Regions from separate parts of the Homo sapiens genome. Here region 1 is linked to region 2. Evidence: promoter capture Hi-C in human tissues and cell types (Jung and others, 2019). All regions are on one chromosome and are shown on one strand. Each heading gives the region's core, a stretch centred on a gene start or on the middle of the fragment in contact. The rest is flanking DNA. Distances are from core to core; before and after follow the strand shown.

Region 1 (4,980 bases), core at 1,440-3,939, 320 kb before region 2:
GCCTCCCGGGTTCATGCCATTCTCCTGCCTCAGCCTCCTGAGTAGCTGGGACTACAGGCGCCCGCCACCATGCCTGGCTAATTTTTTGTATTTTTAGTAGAGATGGGGTTTCACCGTGTTAGCCATGATGGTCTCGATCTCCTGACCTCATGATCCACCCGCCTCGGCCTCCTAAAGTGCTGGGATTACAGGCTTGAGCGACCACGTATTGTATTATTCTTATGCCTTTGCATCCTCATAGCTTAGCTCCCACTTATGGGTGAGTGAGAATATACAATGTTTGGTTTTCCATTCCTGAGTTACTTCACTTAGAATAATAGTTTCCAGTCCCATCTGGGTTGCTGCGAATGCCATTAATTCATTCCTTTTTATGATTGAGTAGTATTCCATTGTATATATATATCTCCCACAGTTTCTTTATCTACTTGTTGATTGATGGGCTGAATGACTTTATATTTTAAAAGTGCTCAAATCATTGCATGGCACAGAGTGAGGCCTCTAGAAAGTTGTGTTAAGTAAACAAAAGAAGTCCTGAATCAAGGCAGTGGCAGTGGGAATAGAGGGGAGAAGACAGCAGTATTTGGGAGATCGTTTAGGTTGGATGATTAGGTGGAGGGCCAGAGGGAGGAGGAAAAGCAGTGGCCATGTTTCTGTTTTGGGTGAATGGTGGTGCTATGCATGGAGATGGGGAATAAAGGGAGAGAAGCAGGTCCCAGCTGAAGATAAATTTAGTTGAGGACATTATTAGTTAGAGGCACCTTTGGGAGATTTGCAATGGGATGGATTTGGCTGCATGTTGGCTGCATAAATATGGAATTCAGAGCTGGTCTGGAGAAACAGACACAAGATTTAGGAAGTATCGGTATGTACATAAGTGGTACTGGGGTTAAGTAGGTGTGAGTTAGTTCGCACAGTGTGAGTGTGTGGTTCCGGAGTTTTGACTTGGGGTTCCCAATAGGCTTTAGGGGAAAACCCCTAACATTGGATACAAAGTTTTGTGCATATGTTTGTTTTTTCGTATTTCCGTGGAAAATATGTGTAGCTTTCATCCACAAAAGCATAAAAACAATTGGCATGATTAGTGGGAGAGCACCTGCTTTGTTTCCTTGGCACACATTTTGGCTTATTTTAATAAATGAGCAACTTGTTGCAGGTGTTGACAACTTCCTTCACTAGCATATAAGCTCTGTAAGGGCAGGGGTCACAAGGAGAGGGAACTGCCATATAGCGCGTGGCTCACGGTGCGTTTTCCACAAATATTAGAGGAATGAATAATTACAAGTGAACTTTATATTTCCACTAAAAATACAAATAAACTAGAAGGTAAAACTTCCTGGTATAAAAACATCTCTCGCACTGTTGCATGACTTTATATCTAAGCTATTAAAACACTTAGCGACAAATAATATTGCCTAGAGAAATACAGTTATTTTATTATGTTGTAGGTCTATTTTCAGTTTGGACTTAATTTCTTTTTTTTTGAAACGGAATTTTGCTCTTGGCCAGGCTGGAGTGCAATGGTGCGATCTCAGCTCACTGCAACCTCTGCCTCCCAGGTTGAAGTGATTCTCCTGTCTCAGCCTCCCTAGTAGCTGGGATTACAGGTGTGCACCACCATGCCTGGCTATTTTTGTATTTTTAAGTAGAGACAGGGTTTCTCCATGTTGGTCAGGCTGGTCTCGAACTCCCAACCTCAGGTGATCCACCCGCCTTGGCCTCCCAAAGTGCTGGGATTACAGGTGTGAGCCACTGCGCTTGGCCCAGTTGGACTTTATTTCTGTGTTCATTTAAGTAGTTTAAATTTGATTTTTTTGGCTCAGAAGTCAGTTGTAAAAAGCTAGCTTCTGGGCCGGGCGCTGTGGCTCATGCCTGTAATCCTGGCACTTTGGGAGGTGGATCATGAGGTCAGGAGTTTGAGACCAGCCTGGCCAACATAGTGAAACCCTGTCCCTACTAAAAATACAGAAAAATTAGCTGGGTATGGTGATGGGCACCTGTAATCCCAGCTACTTGGGAGGCTGAGGCAGGACAACTGCATGAACCTGGGAGTTGGAGGTTGCAGTGAGCTGAAATCGCCCCACTGCACTCCAGCCTGGGCGACAGTGCAAGACTCTGTCTCAAGGGAAAAAAAAAAAAAAGTTAGCTCCTGGATGAATAAAAACCATAATCGGAGTACATTAGCCCTGGTGAAAATGTCAAAATTCTGAAATAAACCATTAGATCAGGCATAAACAGTCTCAAATGCTTTAGTTATCCCAGTTATGCAGGTATGAAAAGATGCTTTTTAAACTTAAATTAGATAATTATTTCCATTTGCTATTTTAATATGCCTGTGTTGATTTGTATTTTTGGATCAGGTACCTGGAAACTTCTGTGATAGAGTATTTCATTGAATGCGTAGTCTAAAGCTCAATGATAGTAAATATTATGACTTCAGAATCTTATTCTTCCCTCTTGCCACAACAGCAGTAGAAATGGGTCTTTTTGCTGTCATGGGAGTGGCCTCTCAGGTAGACTTAACAGATACTGGGGTGAGTAGGGGAAGTAGTTTCTATTCTCTATTTCTGTTCCCTCAGTGTGCTTTATTTCTTCTGTTCTTTCTTTTCTGTGCTCTGCTTTGTTTTCTAAAGATGGATTAAAGAAAGATTAGGAACAGAAAGTAGAATGAAAGCTTCACAAGAACAGAGACCTAGCCTGTTTTGTTTATCCCAAGCATCAAAAATAGTTCTTGGTCCATAAAAGGCTCTGAGTAAATATTTCTTGAATGGATAAATGAATGATTGAATGAAAAAAGTTGATGCGGGCTCTTAAAATTCTTCCTAGCTAGAACTTGTTACTGTTCAAAAGTTTTTCAGACCACACTTATATTTCACTCACCAGTGTTTTCCTCAGAGAAGTTTTTGAGACCCATGCTAGACTGTTAAATTAGTAACATCAATTATAAATCTAGAGATATTTCTGATTTCTTTAAAAAAGTTATTAGTTTGACTTAAAATAAATTTTAAAGAAGAGGAAATGTCCTACTAAAAGTGAAAGTATATTTTTGTTTTTTGTAGCCACAATGTTTTAATATGAGAGTAACAGAAAATCAATTATAGAAACTCAGTTTTATTAACTTAGCTCAGAAATAATATATAATCAGCATTAATTTAATACCTTCTTAAAATTTCTTAGGTAAAGTCATAGCACAAAGTTAATCCCAATTAAAAGATTCTTTTAATACATAATCTTTAAAAACAAATCTACCATTTATTTTGGTTTACATAATCAAGAACCTCTCTTTCTGAGTGCAGTTGTGAAGGTCAGTGGCCTGAGGAATAACCGTTCATGTGTTCAATGAATTTTTTTGTTTTTAAGACGGAGTTTTGCACTTTTTCCCCAGGCTGGAGTGCAGTGGCGTGATCTTGGTCCACTGCACCCTCCACTTCCCGGGCTCAAGCCGTTCTCCTGCCTCAGCCTCCTGAGTAGCTGGGATTACAGGCACGTACCACCAAGCTCGGCTAATTTTTGTATTTTTAGTAGAGATGGGGTTTTGCCATGTTGGCCAGGCCAGTCTGGAACTCCTGACCTCGTAATCCACCCGCCTCGGCCTCCCAAAGTGCTGGGATTACAGGTGTGAGCCATCACGCCCTGCCTACCATTTCTTTTAGAAATGAAATTACTGGGCAAAGGGTATGTACCTTTAAAATTTTGGTAAGTGTGGCTAGATTGCCTTCCATAAAGGTTATACCAGTGTTTTTTTTTTTTTTTTTTGAGGTGAAGTCTCGCTCTGTCACCAGGCTGGAGTGCAGTGGCATGATCTCGGCTCACTGCAGCCTCCACCTCCCGGGTTCAAGCGGTTTTCCTGCCTCAGCTTCCCAAGTAGCTGGGACTACAGGTGTGTGCCACCATGCCCAGCTAATTTTTGTATTTTTAGTAGAGATGGGGTTTCACCATGTCGGCCAGGATGGTCTCGATCTCTTGACCTCGTGATCCACTCACCTCGGCCTCCCAAAGTGCTGGTATTACAGGGGTTAGCCATTGCGCCCAGCCAAGGTTATACCAGTTTTCACTTTTATCAGCAGTATAGTGCGTGAGCATCTGTTTCCCCACATCCTTGACAGATATGGGCATTATCAGTCTTCTAAAACTTAGGGGAAAATGATCAAGTTTTAACTTATCTGCTTATTTGTGACATCTAGCATTTTTTATGTGTGTTGGCTATTTGCATTTCTTTTATACTTTGCCTATTAGGAGCTTTTATTTATTTTTTCTATTGGTTAGGTTATCTTTTATTGATTTGTAGGAACCCTTTTACAAGTTTTGTGTGTGTGTGTGTTTTAAGATAGGTTATTGCTCTGTTGCCCAGGCTGGAGTACAGTGGTGTGATGGTCATGGCTCACTGCAGCCTCAAACTCTTGGCGCGCAAGTGCCACCCCAGCCTCCTGAGTAGCTGGGACTACAGGCATGCAGGCATGTGTCACTACACTAGGCTGATTTTTTTTTTTTTATTTGTAGAGATGGGGGTCTCCCTGTGTTGCCCTGGCTGGTATTAAACTCTTGGGCTCAAATGATCCTCCCGCCTTGGCCTCTCAAAGTGTTGGGATTACAGGTGTGAGCCACCACACCTGGCCTGTTGTGTGTGTGTGTGTGTGTGTGTGTGTGTGTGTGTGTGTATTTTTTTTTTTTTTTTTGAGATGAGTGTCGCTCTGTCGCCCAGACTGGAGTGCAAAGGGGCATTCTTGGCTTACTGCAACATCTGCCTCCCAGGTTCAAGCGATTCTTGTGCCTCAGCCCCCTGAGTAGCTAGGATTACAGGTGTGCACCACCACACATGGCCAATTTTTGTATTTTTAGTGGAGATGGGGTTTTGCTGTATTGGCCAGGCTGGTCTCAAACTGCTGGTCTCAAGCAGTCCAACTGCCTCGGCCTCCAAAGTGCCGGGATTACAGGCGTGAGCCACTGTGTCCAGCCTGTTGTAGATGTTTTTAAGTTAGTTGC
Region 2 (5,024 bases), core at 1,884-4,383:
ATGGGTGCACCAAAATTTCACAAATCACCACTAAAGAACTTACTCATATAACCTGTTCCCCAAAAATCTATGGAAATAAAAAAAAATTTTTTAAATGATCTAATATAAGTGAAGCGTTTCATGCAGTGGTTCTCAGCTGGGAGCTGTTTTGTCACCCCAGGGACATCTGACAATATCTGGAAACATTTTTTTTCTTTTGTTTGTCAAAACTGGGGCGGGGAGGCCAGGTGTGGTGTTCATGCCTATAATCTCAGCGCTTTGGGAGGTTGAGGTGGGATGATTGCTTGAGGCCAGGGGTTTGAGACCAGCCTGGGTAATATAGTGAGGCCCCATCTCTACAAAAATTTAAAATTAGCCAAGCCCGGTGGCACATGCTTATCGTCCCAACTATTCAGGAGGCTGAGGTGGGAGGATTGCTTGGGCCTGGGAGTTCGAGGCTACAGTGAGCCGTGATCATGCCAGTGCACTCCAGCATAAGTGATAGAGACCCTGTCTTTTAATTTTGTTTTTTTTAATTAAAAAAATAAAAACTGGGGTGGAGAGGGCTGCTACTGGAACCAGCTGTTGAACATCCTACAATGTACAGGATATCCCGCACAACACAGAATGACCTGTCCCAAAATATCAATAGTGCCACCAGTGAGAAACCCTGGGTTAGTGCAGCATCAGGCACATAGTAAAAACTGTATTGGTGTTTGCTATGATTATTATTTTATAAGTGGCCCTTCTTGACAAATGTTCCCACACAGTCTGACAGTGGAGGTATAATGGAGTGTTGGGTTGAGAGTTAGGTTTGACACCTAGCTTCACCCTTTATTAACTATGTGACTTTTGAGCCCTTACTTGACTTCGCTATACCCCATATTCTTTGTCTATCCAATTGGAATAACAGCAACTCCCTGAGAGAGTTGCTGGGGAATTGGATAAAATAATTCATACAAAACATTCAACACTGCAGTAGCACATAGTAAATGTTCAGTAAATGCCATCGATTGTTGCTGCTGCTGTTGATCCAATAAAGACCTTTCCACAGAATATAGTGAAGGGATAGAGGACAGTTTCAACTAGGAAAAAAAATTACTCATATAAAGTATATAAAAGCGTATATTTCGTATATTAATAAATATGTAGAAGTTAAATTTAAACTATCCTTTTTAAGGCTGCTATTTATAATTTTCTAAAAAGTATATTGCTTTTGCTTTCCTAGGGTAGAGCACCTCCTTGATATAAAAGATCCTCTCAATTTTAAACATTTGTATCTAACACAGAATGCATAATTATTTAATTAAGACGTTTGGTCTTGATTAGAAATAGAAACACATTAAAGTATTTTTGAGAACCTGGATCTCAGATATGAAATATAAGACTTAGGAAAGTTAAACACTAGCGTAGTAGCAACAACCTCTTGTGTTTGAGATTCGTTAATCTCTTATTCCTTCATTGAAATAGGAAGGAGAAGCTTGCAGTGGGTAAGTAATTGCAGATTTGTAGCCATTTCTAGCAGTTCCTAGAATCCCCTTTATAATCTAATATTTGTGTTTTTAAAAAATAATCTAATATTTGTAAAAGTGCTTTGGAAATTGTAAAACAAAACTATGGAGATGTGGGCCATTAGTATTATCATCAACCCTAACAGGATGTTAGAGAGTCAGATGTTGCCACTTCAAGGGAGATGACCGAGTTTTGGTGCATTTCAGGAAGCCAAAATCAGGCTGCAAGTAAACTTTGTATTTAAGAATAAATGAGACCGGGCTTGGTGGCTCACGCCTGTAACTGCAGCACTTTGGGAGGCTGAGGTGGGCAGATCACGAGGTCAATAGATCGAGACCATCCTGGCTAACATGGTGAAACCCCGTCTCTACTAAAAATACAAAACATTAGCTGGGCGTGGTGGTGCATGCCTGTAGTCTCAGCTACTCAGGAGGCTGAGGCAGGAGGATCACTTGGATCTGGGAGGCAGAGGTTGCAGTGAGCCAAGATTGCACCACTGCACTCCAGCCTGGAGACAGATTGAGACTCCGTTTCAAAAAACAAAAAACAAAAACAAAAGAATAAATGATTAAATTGATAAACTATACATTATTTCGTGTAATATTAGAAATACAATGAAGAACTGTGTTTCTCTGCATAAAACTTTTAGGTACGTGTTTTATACTCTGTTACAAAATAGTTGGGTGGAAAAACTCCCACCATATACAAAATGAAAAGGCAAATGACAACCTGGGAAAAATGTTTGCAAAACATATGCAAAGATTTCATATTCCCAATAGAGAAAAAAGTCTTATAGATCAACAGGAAGGATATAAATGCTGCAATAAAAGACATGAACATGCAATTAACAAAAGAAATTCAAATTGCCAGCAAATATTAAAAATCTTTAGAATTACTGTCAACCAAACAAATGCAAATTAAACAATACTTTTTTTTCCTTTTAAATTGGCAATGGTTAAAATGTTTCTATCTTCTAGATGTACTATTTTCTGAACACCAGAATTCAGCACAGCACCTGGCACCAAACAGGATCGACAATCATTTAATAAGTAAATGAATGAGTCATGTGCATGCAACCTAGACATGACTGACATTCACCCTTTTATTTCTTTCTCTCTTGAGAAGGGATCTCACTCTGTCACCCAGGCTGGAGTGCAGTGGCCTGTCATGGCTCACTGCAGTCTCAAATTTCTGGGTTCAAGTGATCCTCAGCTTCCTGAGTAGCTGGGACTACAGGAGTGCACCACCACACCTAGCTATATTAAAATTATTTTTGTAGAGAGGAGGGCTTGCTCTATTGACCAGTCTGGACTCAAACTCCTGAACTCAAGTGATCCTTCTGCCTTGGCCTCCCAAAGTGCTGGGATTACAGATGTGAGCCACTTCGCCCAGCCCACCGTTTTATTTTTGTGAGTATACTGTGGGTTTATATTTATAAATTGGGTGGGGAGAAGATCCCCTTGCTTCTTGAGATCATTTATTTACCTTTCTTGCTTAGAAAGACAAATAAATGGTCTGAAAGTGCTTATTTGGGGGGTAGTTTTTTTTTTTAATGGGAAGTGACTCAAAAGTGAAGTCTCAGTTCAAGACCTTTTTTTTTTTTTAAGTCTTACTCAAAAGGAAGTGAGTATGAGGTGAACTGCATTAACCTAAAGTGCTGCAGAGATAAACTTAAAGCAGGAAGCAACATACCATGAATGTACTGCAAGGGAACACATTTGTGTCATGTGAAGAGACATGACAAAAACAGCCCTCCTTAAATTATTTGTGGCAATAGTGATCACATTCATTTTAATTTTGCCGGAATATTTCAAGACACCGAAAGGTGAGTATATAATTGTAATCTAGCTTTCCTTTCTTAATTTAAAAAAATTAGTGTCAGCTAGTGGTTACAGAAAAGATCCTCTTTTTGGACACATGCTGCATAGGCTGAAGTTCTAGATCTGAAAAACTAATAAAACAAGATTGCAATTTTAGTTGACTGTTATATAGTACAGTAACCTAATTCATAGTACTTAATTATCATAGCATACCTAAAAATGAAAATATTTAAAATCTGTAGTCTAGATTTCAGACATTGAGATTACAATAATTGCATCATGATTTTGCTCTTTGAAACACTTTCTTCAAAGCAGTTTTTTTTTATTTTTTTATTTTTTATTTTTTTTTTTTGAGATGGAGTCTCTGTCGCTCAGGCTGGAGTGCAATGGCCTAATCTTGGCTCACTGCAACCTCTGCCTGCCGGATTCAAGCAATTCTCCTGCCTCAGCCTCCGAGTAGCTGGGATTACAGGCGCCCACCACCATGCCTGGCTAATTTTTGTATTTTTAGTAGAGACACGGTTTCACCATGTTGGCCAAACTGGTCTTGAACTCCTGACCTTGTGATCCACCCACCTCGGCCTCCCAAAATGCTGAGATTACAGGCTTGTGCCACTGTGCCTGGCCCAAAGCAGCTTTAAGTATGCTTTTTACATTTTGGAATTCTTTAATGAAGAAAGTGATATTTATTGTGTTAAAAATGCTAGAATTCCCTTTACTACAACTATTTCACACAGATAACTTACCGTCACCTTTTGACAAGAAAAAGCGTTTATATATTTTGAAAATACAATCAAAATAAGGTGAGTGGAAATTTAAACAGATGTATGTGTATGTATTTGTAACTGGAGAAAAATGGAACAAAATTAACTTTGTGAACGTTTCAGAAAATTGTGATATAATTGCTGAAACCTAGATTAGGAAAATAAATAGGTATAAATTTAAACTATTTTGATGTTAGCAAAGGACTTGAAAATTTATTAATGTGAGGTTCAAATGGTAATTGTGCTCCCTAGCATTTAATAAGAAGAAAAGGTGAAAAGAAAAGGCTGTATTCTATCATTAAATAGTCTTTATATGAATTTGATTAAAATCAGAGAAAAACTCATATTTGATTATTTGCTGCAATGAATATTTATTGTTGCATATATGTAATGCTAAATAGCCAGATAAAAATATTTTTGCTAATTATATTTGATGACATATTTCAGTGATTATTTGATGTTGCATTTACATGATGCTAAGTAGCGAGTTAAAAATATTTTTGCTAAATAAACACTATGACTACAATTTGGTTTTCTGGCATTATGTTACTTAGATGAAGCAATCATAGCACATATTTTCAGTGCTTGATTCCACTGGGTGAAAATGTGTTATAAAGAGAATAGTTAGAATAAAGATAATCTATTTTTAAGATATTGTGGGCTGAGAGTAAGCTCATTTAATAGTTATCCGGAGTAGGTTCTATCTATATATCTATCTAGCTAGCTAGCTAGCTATCGATCTACACCTAGCACCTCTTAAAAATCAGGTTGGATCTAATAAAAACCAGGTAATCATCCCAAAAATGACTTAATTAACTATTGGTTAGTATTTTATGAGAACTGGTGACTACAGGAGCATGTTAAAGGTTTTCATTTTGGGGCAGACATGTAGTTCTTTTAGTTTTTGTTTCTCAAAGTGAGAAGCATGGCCTTCTGGGGCAGTGGTGAG

What was found. The method cuts DNA at HindIII sites, captures the fragments that hold promoters and counts their contacts. A contact is called where the count stands out against the background at its distance.
Region 1: a fragment that was not itself captured here is called in contact with the fragment with the promoter of TMEM156 in region 2 in 1 of the 25 tissues and cell types used here (lymphoblastoid cells).

Annotation. Positions count from the first base shown.
Region 1 is chr4:39,354,774-39,359,753 of GRCh38, reverse strand. The region is part of intron 1 of RFC1 (replication factor C subunit 1); the gene reads left to right. Among named protein-coding and RNA genes, the nearest start is that of RFC1, 9.1 kb to the left of the region's middle. The HindIII fragment of the contact is 7,671 bases long and covers 1-4,980 here.
Region 2 is chr4:39,030,518-39,035,541 of GRCh38, reverse strand. It overlaps TMEM156 (transmembrane protein 156), which reads left to right and starts at 3,133. Exons shown (of 7, transcript NM_024943.3): 1 at 3,133-3,316. The coding sequence starts at 3,229. The HindIII fragment of the contact is 30,825 bases long and covers 1-5,024 here.